2 separate regions of the Homo sapiens genome follow, and region 2 is linked to region 1. Evidence: promoter capture Hi-C in 16 types of primary human blood cells and fetal thymus (Javierre and others, 2016). All regions are on one chromosome and are shown on one strand. The core of a region is centred on a gene start or on the middle of the fragment in contact, and the rest is flanking DNA. Distances in the headings are between cores, read along the strand shown.

What was found. Contacts are between HindIII fragments. The CHiCAGO score rates a contact against its expected background, and 5 or more counts as called.
Region 2: a contact is called between a fragment that was not itself captured here and the fragment with the promoter of PCED1A in region 1, in 3 of 17 cell types (megakaryocytes, total CD8 T cells and activated CD4 T cells). The highest score is 8.0, in megakaryocytes.

The regions. Positions count from the first base shown.
Region 1 is chr20:2,839,278-2,842,095 of GRCh38, reverse strand. PCED1A (PC-esterase domain containing 1A) reads left to right here and starts at 1,441. Exons shown (of 8, transcript NM_022760.6): 1 at 1,441-1,885; 2 at 2,163-2,307. The coding sequence starts at 2,184. It overlaps VPS16 (VPS16 core subunit of CORVET and HOPS complexes), which reads right to left and starts at 1,351. Exons shown (of 24, transcript NM_022575.4): 1 at 1,269-1,351. The coding sequence starts at 1,321. RefSeq lists enhancers at 543-1,074, 1,608-2,139. The HindIII fragment of the contact is 13,128 bases long and covers 1-2,818 here.
Region 2 is chr20:2,738,484-2,741,301 of GRCh38, reverse strand. The region is part of intron 6 of EBF4 (EBF family member 4); the gene reads right to left. Among named protein-coding and RNA genes, the nearest start is that of EBF4, 47 kb to the right of the region's middle. RefSeq lists an enhancer at 2,159-2,740. The HindIII fragment of the contact is 5,127 bases long and covers 1-2,818 here.

The sequences.
Region 1 (2,818 bases), core at 192-2,691:
AATATGCACTGGTGATAAAGAGAAGCAAGAAACATGCTTTTGGCCGGGCTCAGTGGTTCACGCCTGTAATCCCAGTACTTTGGGAGGCCAAGGTGGATAGATTGCTTAAGGTCAGAAGTTCAAGACCAGCCTGGCCACCATGGTGAAACCTCACCTCTAGCAAAAAATACAAAAATTAGCCGGGCGTGGTGACAGGGGCCTGCAGTCTCAGCCACTCGGGAGGCTGAGGCAGGAGAATCCCTTGAACCCGGGAGGCGGAGGTTGCAGTGAGCCGAGTGCCCCTGCACTCCAGCCTGGGCAACAGAGGAAGACTCTGTCAAAAAAAAAAAAAATGCTTTCAGCCCTGAAGGAGCCTGGTTTAGCAGAAGAAACCTATACAAATGTCGCCTAAATATACAAATAGACCATACCTAAAAGACCCTAGCACTGGGCCCAGTGAGGCCCACAGGATTCTATTGGGGGAGAATCAGGCACAGTTCCAGAAAGAACCCTTGAACTACTAAGTCCTGAAGGATGCGCAAAATTCTTCAGTGAGATAAAGAGAGAAATGGCAGTATCCACAGAAACTGCAGACTGGTTAGGGCCTTGTAATTCTGCGCAGCTGGAACGCAAGATTTGGGTAGGAGAGCGGTAGATGAGGTTGGAGAGACAAACGGGCTGCCTTACAGATAGACGTTCCACGAGAAGTTCGTAGTTTTTCCTATTAGGGAAGCTATGGGAAAATCCTAATCTGGGTAACGATGTAACGGGTTTACACTTTAGAAAAATCCGTGGTTTAGGACTCTACAACTCCCATGGGCGGGCTGCCCTAACCCAGGGGTTCCCACTTCCGCTGTTCCGGGATTCACGGACGACTCGCCCCCTTTTCCCAGCCTTGGTCAGCACTGTTACCCCGCCCGCCGTGCGATCCCGCCCCCCTCGGAGCGCCCCTGTGGTCTGACTTCAGCAGCACTTTCCGGCAGGAGACTGGGCACTCGCTGTCACCCGCGAGCTGCCTCCCTCAGCGAGATCTGAGCATCTTTCCGGAGGCTAACAGACCTGGGCTTCGGGGTGACCACTGTGCTTGCCTCAGTTTCCTTTTCTGGAGCAGGGGAAGGCCCGGCTCCCTGCCCAAAGGCGGCTGTGCGCTAAGTGGCAGACGCTCGGGGAGAGCCGGCGCGGGGCGGACCCCAGCGCCAGTAGTGACAGGGGCGAACGCCGCCGGGAGACTCCAGCCGGCGGGCGAGCAGGGTAAGCCAGGCCGTGGGCGGGAGGGCGGGGCAGCTCACCGGTAAAAGGCAGAGTCCCCGAGTGGGTTCCAGTTCGCCGTGTAGCAGTCCATGGCTGGTGCAGACGGCAGCTGGGAAGCACCGAGGGGACACCCACCTAGAGCGGGCTCCAGGCCGGCACTTCCGCTTCCGCCCGTCCGGGTCACGTGGCGAGGCCGCCGCCGCGGCCATCACCACTGTGGGCAGCCTCACTTGGCTGCCGCCCCGAGACCCCAGCCCGTACCTGGGCTTCGCGCCCGCCAAGTGGGCCCAGCCCTGGCTCCTGCGCCCTGTGGCGGCCACCTCCATCGCCTTGCTTTCCCTTCGGGCACTGGGGGTCGCTCAGGGCGGGACATGGGTGAACGGAAGTGGAAGCTGTGAGCGTCGCAGCCCGAGGCGCCGAGGCCTGAGGCGCCGTCGGGGCCACAGCGACGCTCGCATGGAGAGCGCTGGGCGCTGGGCTGTGCACCGACGGCTAACCTGGACCCACGGTCTCTGCGGGGCGGGAGCTTTGCAGAACCGACTGGCCGACTGGGGCGCGGGAACATGAGGCTTGGCTAGGAGCCCGCTGCGGGCCAGGCGCGCGGTGCGCAGGCATACCCGGGTCGCGGGTGAACACCGCGGAGCCCCGGGACTTGGTAATTGGCGCGAGCGGGTGCGCGCATGCGCGGGACGGCGGCGGGCACGTGGCGAGGCGCAGGGCGGCGCCGCGCGGGAAGCTCCCCAGTGCCCTGGAGGCCTGCTGGCTGGACGACCCCCTGCCTCTGGTACCAAGTGTGACCAAGGCTGGCGCCACCATGGCTCTGCTGCCGTCACCTCCTCCCTTTAGCATTGAGCAGCCCCGGAGGGGCTAGCCCTGAGGCTGACCTGCCCAGAGTCCCCACCATCGCGCTGCTTAGTGGCCTCTCCCTGCAGCCTGTCGTTGCTGGTGGCGGCATGGTCTTCTGTCTGTCGAGCGAGGAGCCGCGCCGCCCGCTGCGAAGCGACATGGTCCACTTCCAGGCCTCGGAAGTCCAGCAGCTGCTACACAACAAGTTCGTGGTCATCTTGGGGGACTCCAGTGAGTGCCTCTTCTAGGGTGACGCTTCCAGTCCCACACCTTGCAGCCCGTTCAGTGTGTCTGGACCATTTGTTTCCATCTCACATCTCTTGTCTGTCTTCTGGTCTGTTCCGTCCAGTAGGTTTTCTCTTTTTATGTCCCACACATCTTCCACAGGAGTCCTGACAGGTGTAATAACCTGTGCACTTTTTAGCCCATCCTTGCTCAGCATTTCTCGCCCTGACAGCTCCCCATAATTTCCATCACGAAAGCGTTGCATTGTGTAGTGTGTCTCCTGGGTGACTTGGCCGACTTAATTTCTGCCAGGTGATCTTGGGTCACTGTATACTGCTGGCCAGGAGGCACACAGAACAGAGGCAATGCCAGGACTTTTTAACCTCATCTTTTCTCCTGCGTCTAAGTCAACCACAGAGCTGGTGTCGGGCACCTCAGCCCTGGGAAAATGGGGTCCTGGACTTGGAAGGAGCTGGGGCAGGCTGAGGTCTGCCTCAGCCTTGGGATCTCTGTCTCC
Region 2 (2,818 bases), core at 110-2,609, 100 kb after region 1:
CTCGCTCTGTCACCCAGACTGGAGTGCAGTGGTGTGATCTTGGCTCACTGCAGCCTTGACCTCCCAGGCTTAAGTGATCCTCTCACCTCAGCCTCCTGAGCAGGTGGGACTACAGGTCACACTACCATGCTCAGCTAATTTTGTTTATTTTTTGTAGAGACGGAGGTCTCAGTACGTTGCCCAGGCTGGTCTCAAACTCCTGGGCTCAGGCGATCCTTCTGATTCAGCCTCCCAAAATGCTGAGATTACAGGCATGAGCCACCATGCCTGGCCTGGAGCTTCTTTTGGAAGACAACGTCCAGGAACTTTACAGTGAGTTGATGCCTGCCTGATTCCCTCATGCCCCAGCTGCAGTGTAGACTGTCAAATGGCTCGCAGCTGCCCCAAGGTAATCTGAGAATTACCCTCAGCCAAGAGCATATACTCCCCACCAGTAGCCCACAGCCAATGACAGATTGACATTACAAGGAGGACCAACTCTCTGGCCATTCACACTCCAGACCTCTGCATGGGATAGGCTGACGCTAGACTCCGACCGAGACCACCTCCTTGTTAAACTCCCTCTATACTCATTCCTTTTCTCCTGAGAGCTCTCCTTTGATAAACCTCTTTCACAAGAATCCCCATCTCAGGCTCTGCTTCCAGGAATCCCACCCTAAGAAAACTTAGGTCACAGAGCTAAGGCTTTTCACCAGCTTTTTCTTCCCTGCATCCCCATGAGATACTTAGGGCTGAAATTATGTTCTCACTTCCAAAGAGAAAGCTGTCAGTAACTCAAAGAGCTGGAAGGAGAGCCCGAGTGCATTTTCCACTACAGGTCTGTCAGGGGCAAGGAAGAACGTGTCTAGATTACAGTGCTCCCTAAGGGAACTTTTTCCAGAATGATATGCATTAGCCACGCATGGCTACTAAGCACTGGAAATGTGGCTAGTGCAACTGAGGAACTGAATTTTATTTCATTTTAATTAACATAAATCTATTTTTTTTTTGAAACGGAGTCTCGCTCTGTTGCCCAGGCTGGAGTGCAGTGGCGTGATCTCGGCTCACTGCAACCTCCACCTCCTGGGTTCAAGCGATTCTCCCGCCTCAGCCTCCTGAGTAGCTGGGACTAAAGGCGACTGCCACCATGCCCAGCTAATTTTTGTATTTTTAGTAGAGACAGCGTTTCACCATATTGGTCAGGCTGGTCATGAACTCCTGACCTCTGGTGATCCACCCGCCTTGGCCTCCCAAAGTGCTGGAATTACAGGCGTGGGCCACTGCGCCCAGCCATTTTAATGAACATAAATCTAAATAGTCACATGTGGCTCGAGACTACCATATTGGACAGTGCAGATCTAGAAAGAAGGTATGCAGTGAATGGATATACGAGCTGGGGCAGGATGTTCCAAACAACAGTGTGTCCTGTGAAGGCCTTGGGAAAGACAGCAGGTTAAGAGTGAAGGGTAGATTAAATTGGATATGTGTTTCCAAGCCCAAAGCTGGCACTGCAGCCTGAGATGGGGAAATAAGGGGACAGGGATCTCCGCTAATTTTTATCCTAAAAGATTTGTCTTGGGCTCCCATGAGCCTCCGAAGAAACTGAAGCAGTTTCTGGCTCTCCAGCGTGTTCACTGTCTGCTTCTCTCTACCCTCAGCTCAGGGACAGAGGAGGACACAGAGGGCTGGGCCATTCATCCCCTCATTCATTCCATACACCCACTTAAAAAGATTTATTAAATACCTTCTATGTGTTAGGCACTGCGGCATTGTATAAAATCTTAAGGAAATTACAACCCAACAGGAAAGAGAAACTCAGGAAGACAGAGTGGTGGGCACGGCAGGAGGATGTGCCAAGTGTAATCTGCAGTGGCCACTTATTTTGCCTAGGGGAGGCGGAATGCTTCCTAGAGCTCCAATTTGGTCTTGGGTGATGGGTCTTGGAGGATCTCACCGAGAAGTAGGAGGCAGGGCCCTCCATGCAAAGGGACTAACAGCTCCACCACGGGGCAGACGGCTCACTCGATCAGTGGTGCCTGACAAGACTGAGGAGGGCAGCGTGGCTTGGGGCCTGGGGTTGGGACCAAATCATGCGGGACTTGGATCCTCTGGGTGATGGGAAGGCTACAGGGGATGTCTCCCTTCAGGCAGAAACAGGCACCAAAGGGCCTACGCTAGAGAAGGGAAGGGAAATGAGGAGCTTACTGTAATAGTTCAGGCCCATGTGGGGTTGGCCCAGGCTGCTTCCTGGTCTTAGCCTGCGGTAGAAGCCAAGATAGACTGTCCCCAGGGCCACAGCCACCTGCCAGGCCTGGACCTGGCCTCCCCACCATGATCCCCACCCGGGTAGAGGTGGCTGCAGTGCAGATGGGCTGGAGGACTATAAATAGCCAGGGCGCATACATTAGCATGCCAATGCACCCGCACCCCATCCTCTATGCTAATGGCCCACCATGCGCCTGAACACCTTCTGTTCCCCTGCATGCATTTGCATGCACAATTAGCATAATCTTGTATAATTAATGAACAGCGTCAATTTTAGCTCCTAAGTAATTTGATTAACATGTTGATAGGGCACTTACTAGGCTCTCCAAACCTCAGGGCTGGGCATGGGGCCTGAGGAGAAGGGGAGGGGGTGTGGAGAGACTGCTAAGGGGCCCCCAGCTGCCCACCAAGAGTGGCAGTGGCTCCACTTTCCCCAAACCAGGCCTGAGGGGAGAGGAGGAAGGGTGGAGTGGCCACTAATGGGAGGCCTCTGGGCATGCCACATGCAGCGGCAGGAAGGGGCTGGTGCATGGTCACCATGGTGTGCCTGTGTGGACACAGATGTACACATGCA